Regions from separate parts of the Homo sapiens genome. Here regions 1 and 3 are each linked to region 2. The links are contacts of gene promoters, found by promoter capture Hi-C in blood cells and fetal thymus (Javierre and others, 2016). All regions are on one chromosome and are shown on one strand. Each heading gives the region's core, a stretch centred on a gene start or on the middle of the fragment in contact. The rest is flanking DNA. Distances are from core to core; before and after follow the strand shown. Region 1 has its middle 5.7 kb from the start of LRRC37A. Region 2 holds the start of STH (saitohin). Region 3 has its middle 23 kb from the start of LRRC37A.

Region 1 (2,700 bases), core at 168-2,667, 290 kb after region 2:
TGAAGGAATAATACATGGCTATGTAGTTTATCCTGTTACCACTAACTTTTTTCTTTTGTCTCGCTGTATAACCCAGGCTGCAGGGCAGGGGCAGGATCACGGCCCCCTGCAGCCTGGACCTCCCAGGCTCACATGATCCTCCCACCTCAGCCTCCCGAGTAGCTGGGACTACAGATGTGCACCACCAGGCCCGGCTTTTTTTTTTTTTTTTTTTTTTTGACGGAGCCTTGCTCTGTCTCCCAGGCTGGAGTACAGTGGCATGATCTCGGCTCACTGCAACCTCTGTCTCCTGGCTTCAAGCAATTCTCTTGCCTCAGCTTCCCAAGTAGCTGGGATTACAGGTGTGTGCCACCACATCTGGCTAATTTTTGCATTTTTGGTTGTGCCACGTTGGCCAGGCTGGTCTCAAACTCCTGACTTCAGGCGATCCACCTGCCTTGGCCTCCCAAAGTCCTGAGATTACAGGTGTGAGCCACAGGGCCCAGCCTCTTTTCATATTTTTTAAAAAAAGTTTTAATGAGCAGTGAGGACGACCAGAGGTCACTTTCGTCACCATCTTGGTTTTGGTCGGCTTCTTTACTGCATCTTGTTTTTTCTTTTTTTTTTTTTTTGAGACTGGGTCTCACTCTGTCACCCAGGTTAGAGTGCAGTGGCACAATCTCGGCTCAGTGTACCCTGCACCTCCCAGGCTCAAGTGATCCTCCCACCTCAGCCTCCCAAGTACCTAGGACCACAGGCACGTGCCACCAAGCTCAGCTAATTTTTTGTATTTTTGTTAGAGACAGGGTTTCACCATGTTGGCCAGGCTAGCCTTGAACTCCTGACCTCAGGTGACCCATCTCAGCCTCCCAAAGTGCTGGGATTACAAGCGTGAGTCTCTGTGTCTGGCCAACATACTATTGTCTCAATATGCATTTTGCCATACTTTTTAAGTGCATCTCTTCTGCTATCCTGTAGTACAACTTACTCTTGGAAATGATCAAAGCAAACTATATTACCCTAGGGACAAACCCATTGTGATTGGCATCCACGAACAAATTTGGTGTAAAGAAATCATATCTATGACCAAGAGGGTTTCTTTCTTATTTGGAGATAAGAGTCTCACTTTGTCACCCTGCCTGGACTGCAGTGACATAAACACGGCTTGCTATAGCCTTGACCTGCCAGGCTCAAGTGATCCTCCTGCCTCAACCCCTTCAAATAGCTACAGGTGCTCACCACCATGCCCAGCTACTTTTTTTTTTGTAGAGATGGAGTCTTGCTGTGTTGCCCAGGTAACTTACCTCCTGAGCTCAAGTGATCTGCCTGCCTTTGCCTCCCAAAGTGCTGGGATGACAGTTATGAGCCACTTGTACCCAGCCATAAGAATATTTCTTAAAATCTGACTTAAAATTTTTTTAAAAAATTCTTTTAGAGATAGGGTTTCACCATGTTGGCTAGGCTGGTCTCGAACTCCTGACCTCAGGTGGTCTGCCCACCTTGGCCTCCCAAAGTGCTTGGATTACAAGTGTGAGCCACTGTGCCCAGCCAAAATCTGACACATTTATAAATTTCTACAATAATTTTAAATACCAAAAATATTCCCAAAACGTTTCATCATGATTATTTTTCTTCCTAAATCTTATAGTCTCTCAGAAAAATAACTTAGCCCACGTTTCCTTTAAAGAGTTTTTAATTTTTTTAATGAAGGGCCGAATTAATTTTATTTTTCCTTCTTTGAAAAAATTCATCCAGCACACTGGCTCACACCTGTAATCCCAGCAGTTTGGGAGGCCGAGGGCGGAAGATCACTTGCGTCCAGGAGCTCAAGAGCAGCCTGGCCACATGGTGAAACCCCATCTCTACTAAAAATACAAAAATGAGCCAGGTGTGGTGGCGCATGCCTGTAGTGCCAACTACTTGGAAGGCTGAGGTTGGAGGCTCCTTTAAGCCTGAGAGGTGAAGACTTCAGTGAGCTGTGATGGCACCACTGTGCTGCAATGTAGATGACAAAGTGAGACCCTGTCTTAAAACAAAACAAAACAAAACTTTTTTTTGGAGACAGGGCCTCACTTGATCGCCCCGGCTAGAGTACAGTGGTGCTATCATGGCTCACTGCAGGGTCGACCTCCTGGGGTCAAGCAGTCCCCTGGCCTCAGCCTCGCCAAGTAGCTGAGACTACAGGTGTGCATCACAACACCCAGCAAATTCCTTTTTGTAGAAACAGGGTTTTGCCATGTTGCCCAGGCTGGTCTCAAAATCCTGGCCTCAAGTGATCCACCCACCTCAGCCTTTTAGAATGCTGGGATTACAGGCTGTGAGCCACAACTCTCTTGGCCTATAAATGATAATTTAAGTGAATCTCTGAAGCTACAGTTTTTTGTTTCGAGATGGAGTCTCGCTCTGTCGTGCAGTGGCATGATCTCGGCTCACTGCAACCTCCGCCTTCTGGGTTCAAGTGATTCTCCTCCCTCAGCCTCCCAGGCAGCTGGGATTACAGGTGCCTGCCACCATGCCTGGCTAATTTTTGCATTTTTAGTACAGACGGGGTTTCGCCCTGTTAGCCAGGCTGGTCTCGAACTCCTGACCTCAAGTGATCGTTTCACCTCAGCCTCCCAAAGTGCTGGGATTATAGGCATGAGCCATTGCGCCCAGCCTCTGAAGCTATAGTTTTATAGATTCTAAAGCAGAGACTTCATATAGATGTCTATGAAAAGCCAA
Region 2 (2,700 bases), core at 201-2,700:
AGGGCCCAGCCTGATGACCTCATTTTTCACTTAGTCACCTCTCTAAAGGCCCTGTCTCCAAATAGAGTCACATTCTAAGGTACGGGGGTGTTGGGGAGGGGGGTTAGGGCTTCAACATGTGAATTTGCGGGGACCACAATTCAGCCCAGGACCCCGCTCCCGCCACCCAGCACTGGGGAGCTGGGGAAGGGTGAAGAGGAGGCTGGGGGTGAGAAGGACCACAGCTCACTCTGAGGCTGCAGATGTGCTGGGCCTTCTGGGCACTGGGCCTCGGGGAGCTAGGGGGCTTTCTGGAACCCTGGGCCTGCGTGTCAGCTTGCCTCCCCCACGCAGGCGCTCTCCACACCATTGAAGTTCTTATCACTTGGGTCTGAGCCTGGGGCATTTGGACGGAGGGTGGCCACCAGTGCACATGGGCACCTTGCCTCAAACCCTGCCACCTCCCCCCACCCAGGATCCCCCCTGCCCCCGAACAAGCTTGTGAGTGCAGTGTCACATCCCATCGGGATGGAAATGGACGGTCGGGTTAAAAGGGACGCATGTGTAGACCCTGCCTCTGTGCATCAGGCCTCTTTTGAGAGTCCCTGCGTGCCAGGCGGTGCACAGAGGTGGAGAAGACTCGGCTGTGCCCCAGAGCACCTCCTCTCATCGAGGAAAGGACAGACAGTGGCTCCCCTGTGGCTGTGGGGACAAGGGCAGAGCTCCCTGGAACACAGGAGGGAGGGAAGGAAGAGAACATCTCAGAATCTCCCTCCTGATGGCAAACGATCCGGGTTAAATTAAGGTCCGGCCTTTTCCTGCTCAGGCATGTGGAGCTTGTAGTGGAAGAGGCTCTCTGGACCCTCATCCACCACAGTGGCCTGGTTAGAGACCTTGGGGAAATAACTCACAGGTGACCCAGGGCCTCTGTCCTGTACCGCAGCTGAGGGAAACTGTCCTGCGCTTCCACTGGGGACAATGCGCTCCCTCGTCTCCAGACTTTCCAGTCCTCATTCGGTTCTCGAAAGTCGCCTCCAGAAGCCCCATCTTGGGACCACCGTGACTTTCATTCTCCAGGGTGCCTGGCCTTGGTGCTGCCCAAGACCCCAGAGGGGCCCTCACTGGCCTTTCCTGCCTTTTCTCCCATTGCCCACCCATGCACCCCCATCCTGCTCCAGCACCCAGACTGCCATCCAGGATCTCCTCAAGTCACATAACAAGCAGCACCCACAAGGTGCTCCCTTCCCCCTAGCCTGAATCTGCTGCTCCCCGTCTGGGGTTCCCCGCCCATGCACCTCTGGGGGCCCCTGGGTTCTGCCATACCCTGCCCTGTGTCCCATGGTGGGGAATGTCCTTCTCTCCTTATCTCTTCCCTTCCCTTAAATCCAAGTTCAGTTGCCATCTCCTCCAGGAAGTCTTCCTGGATTCCCCTCTCTCTTCTTAAAGCCCCTGTAAACTCTGACCACACTGAGCATGTGTCTGCTGCTCCCTAGTCTGGGCCATGAGTGAGGGTGGAGGCCAAGTCTCATGCATTTTTGCAGCCCCCACAAGACTGTGCAGGTGGCCGGCCCTCATTGAATGCGGGGTTAATTTAACTCAGCCTCTGTGTGAGTGGATGATTCAGGTTGCCAGAGACAGAACCCTCAGCTTAGCATGGGAAGTAGCTTCCCTGTTGACCCTGAGTTCATCTGAGGTTGGCTTGGAAGGTGTGGGCACCATTTGGCCCAGTTCTTACAGCTCTGAAGAGAGCAGCAGGAATGGGGCTGAGCAGGGAAGACAACTTTCCATTGAAGGCCCCTTTCAGGGCCAGAACTGTCCCTCCCACCCTGCAGCTGCCCTGCCTCTGCCCATGAGGGGTGAGAGTCAGGCGACCTCATGCCAAGTGTAGAAAGGGGCAGATGGGAGCCCCAGGTTATGACGTCACCATGCTGGGTGGAGGCAGCACGTCCAAATCTACTAAAGGGTTAAAGGAGAAAGGGTGACTTGACTTTTCTTGAGATATTTTGGGGGACGAAGTGTGGAAAAGTGGCAGAGGACACAGTCACAGCCTCCCTTAAATGCCAGGAAAGCCTAGAAAAATTGTCTGAAACTAAACCTCAGCCATAACAAAGACCAACACATGAATCTCCAGGAAAAAAGAAAAAGAAAAATGTCATACAGGGTCCATGCACAAGAGCCTTTAAAATGACCCGCTGAAGGGTGTCAGGCCTCCTCCTCCTGGACTGGCCTGAAGGCTCCACGAGCTTTTGCTGAGACCTTTGGGTCCCTGTGGCCTCATGTAGTACCCAGTATGCAGTAAGTGCTCAATAAATGTTTGGCTACAAAAGAGGCAAAGCTGGCGGAGTCTGAAGAATCCCTCAACCGTGCCGGAACAGATGCTAACACCAAAGGGAAAAGAGCAGGAGCCAAGTCACGTTTGGGAACCTGCAGAGGCTGAAAACTGCCGCAGATTGCTGCAAATCATTGGGGGAAAAACGGAAAACGTCTGTTTTCCCCTTTGTGCTTTTCTCTGTTTTCTTCTTTGTGCTTTTCTCTGTTTTCAGGATTTGCTACAGTGAACATAGATTGCTTTGGGGCCCCAAATGGAATTATTTTGAAAGGAAAATGCAGATAATCAGGTGGCCGCACTGGAGCACCAGCTGGGTAGGGGTAGAGATTGCAGGCAAGGAGGAGGAGCTGGGTGGGGTGCCAGGCAGGAAGAGCCCGTAGGCCCCGCCGATC
Region 3 (2,700 bases), core at 1-2,500, 270 kb after region 2:
AATCTTCTAAGAAAAGTCTTTTAGTATCTCACTCCAAGTATCTAGAAATACCTTAGAATGTTTCAAATTATTAAAAATACTTCTCGGTTGGCTCTTCCCTCCACCTCCTCAAGTACTTCATTATTTTATCCATGGAATATCCCCATTCTCACATTAAGGGCAAGAAATCTGAGACCTATGGTAATAGTTTCTTTTTTTTTTTTTTTTTTGAGAAGGAGTTTCGCTCTTGTTGCCTAGGCTGGAGTGTAATGGCATGATGTCAGCTCACCGCAACCTCTCCCTCCTGGGTTCAAGTGATTCTCCTGCTCTAGCCTCCCAAGTAGCTGGGATTACAGGCATGCGCCACTTTACCTAGCTAATTTTTTTTTTTTTTTTTTTTTGTATTTTTAGTAGAGATGGGGTTTCTCCATGTTTGTCAGGCTGGTTTCAAACTCCCAACCTCAGGTGATCCACCTGCCTTGGCCTCCCAAAGTGCTGGGATTATACGTGTGAGCCACCACGCCCAGCCGTATCATGATAGTTTCAATCAGGAAGAGTGAAAGCTGTAATAACCATGTAACTTTGTCTAACTAAGTGTGCAGAGATCTGAAAGTCCACCAGGTTGGCTCTTTAACATAAAGAAGTAGAGAGTTTGCCTAAAGGAATTAGCAGAAATAGGGAAATAACTTTTATTTGCAGATCCCAGGAAGGTAGATTACAAACAACAGCAAATCTTAGTGTCTCTAAATAACACTCTAGGCCATTTGGAATATAAAAAGGTAATTATTTTACTTCAGAAAATATCTCCAAAAGTTCACTTTTTTTTTGAGACAGAGTCTTGCTGTGTCGCTCAGGCTGGAGTGCAGTGGCACAATCTCAGCTCACTACAACCTCTGCCTCCCCAGTTCAAGCCATCCTCCCACCTCAGCCTCCTGAGTAGCTGGGACTACAGGTGTGTGCCACTTGTCCAGCTAAATTGTTGTATTTTTAGTAGAAACAGGGTTTCACCATGTTGGTCAGGCAGGTCTCTAACTCCTGACCTTGTGATCTGCCCGCTTCAGCCTCCCAGAGTGCTGGGATTATAGGCGTGAGCCACCATGCCCAGCCACAATTTTATTTAAACCTCCTGTAGAATTTGGATAGGAGAATAAAAGCTTTACCAATAGGAAAATACTTTTCATGAAATGGTTTCAAGGATTGTGAACTTGGCAGGTGAAGCATAACAGTTATTGAAAATACTTTTAGCCAAGGAAATCTACTGATGCAAATTAAATATATTTACAAGCCCAAGGCCTGTGGTAGAAACATCCTAAGAGTATCACAAATGTACAGTTTACTGCCTGGATTATTGAAAGCAAAATAGCTGTGTTATATAGATCTTAATAGCAGAAGCTTTCAAAGATTACTCACAGAAAAGCAGCTTTCAGAACTCATTATGTTCTAAAAAATGTATGTTTTTCTTTCTTTTTTATTTTTTTTGAGATGAAGTCTCACTCTTGTCCCCCAGGCTGGAGTGCAATGGCGTGATCACGGCTCACTGCAACCTCCGCCTCCCAGGTTCAAGTGATTCTCCTGCCTCAGCCTCCCTAGTAGCTGGGATTTCAGGTGCCTGCCACCATGCCTGGCTAATTTTTGTACTTTTAGTAGAGATGGGGTTTCACCATGTTGGCCAGGTTGGTCTCAAATTCCTGACCTCAGGTGATCCCCCCTGCCTCGGCCTCCCAAAGTGCTGGGGTTACAGGCGTGGGCCACCACACCTGGCCAGGAATGTGTGTTTTTCAAAAATTACTTTTGAAAGACTAAAGCCCTATAGTTGATAAAACTATAAAATGTCTTTATGTATTTGTATGGTGATAGAAACTGTAAAACACTTTATACCATTAAATACACATGAAATTAATATCTTCCTGGTCTCAGGATTTCCATAAAATTTACCCTTTTTAATTTGGCAATGCTAACAGCTACAGAAGACATATTACCACCAACCAACCGTTGCTTCATTAGAAACTGCACCAAATCCAATGTCAAAAACATTACTTTATTTTTCTAGTATGAAATGTCCTATTACATACAAAAGAATTGCTGTTTAGAATTTGCCACAATTTGTTGAAAACATAGCAATCTATTGCCTACAGGTAGGAAAGTTCTTGCTGCAACAAATTTTAAATGATTAAGCCCATATATATTTCTATATATATGAATAAATAGTGCAGAAATACTGTGACGTGATGAGATGCAGAATAATTTTATAATTCATTAAAATGTAGAATTCTTGCATCAGCACAGTGCATACAATATGTAACTTTTTTTAAAAAGTAAAAGGACAAAATAATCCATATTTAAGTATTTCCATCTTAATATTTTAAGCAAAAATGTTTTCATGTTTTCATATTGAGTGATTAGTCTCTTTAGTTTGTAAACATAGGTTTAAGTGACATCTTCATGTACAAAAAGGAATGGGCTTCATTAGATAAAATTAAGCCAGAATAACCTGTACACCTGAGCCTGTAATAAGAAAGAATTGGGAACTGTAGCAACATCTTTCTTTTAAGAAACCAAGGTCTGGGAAAGGTTTTGCATAGCAGGGAAACGTTGAAAGGAAGGAAACTTTTAAAAGCAATAATTAGATAAATTCCAGAAGTTGATAGGACAAAGCTAATATGAGTTAGAATAAAATCTAGTAGAATTTTTGCAAAGCTGCATAATCCAGCTATGGCAGAT

What was found. The method cuts DNA at HindIII sites, captures the fragments that hold promoters and counts their contacts. A CHiCAGO score of 5 or more calls a contact.
Region 1: a fragment that was not itself captured here is called in contact with the fragment with the promoter of STH in region 2 in 9 of 17 cell types (activated CD4 T cells, naive CD8 T cells, total CD4 T cells and 6 more); the score reaches 10.1 in activated CD4 T cells.
Region 3: a contact is called between a fragment that was not itself captured here and the fragment with the promoter of STH in region 2, in 9 of 17 cell types (endothelial precursors, activated CD4 T cells, megakaryocytes and 6 more). The highest score is 10.0, in endothelial precursors.

The regions. Positions count from the first base shown.
Region 1 is chr17:46,288,111-46,290,810 of GRCh38, forward strand. It overlaps a transcript of LRRC37A not described here and a transcript of ARL17B not described here. Among named protein-coding and RNA genes, the nearest start is that of LRRC37A, 5.7 kb to the right of the region's middle. RefSeq lists an enhancer at 54-554. The HindIII fragment of the contact is 2,890 bases long and covers 1-2,700 here.
Region 2 is chr17:45,997,800-46,000,499 of GRCh38, forward strand. STH (saitohin) reads left to right here and starts at 1,451. Exons shown (of 1, transcript NM_001007532.3): 1 at 1,451-1,895. The coding sequence starts at 1,481. The coding sequence ends at 1,867. The region is part of intron 9 of MAPT (microtubule associated protein tau); the gene reads left to right. The HindIII fragment of the contact is 3,833 bases long and covers 476-2,700 here.
Region 3 is chr17:46,270,974-46,273,673 of GRCh38, forward strand. It overlaps a transcript of LRRC37A not described here. Among named protein-coding and RNA genes, the nearest start is that of LRRC37A, 23 kb to the right of the region's middle. The HindIII fragment of the contact is 238 bases long and covers 1,132-1,369 here.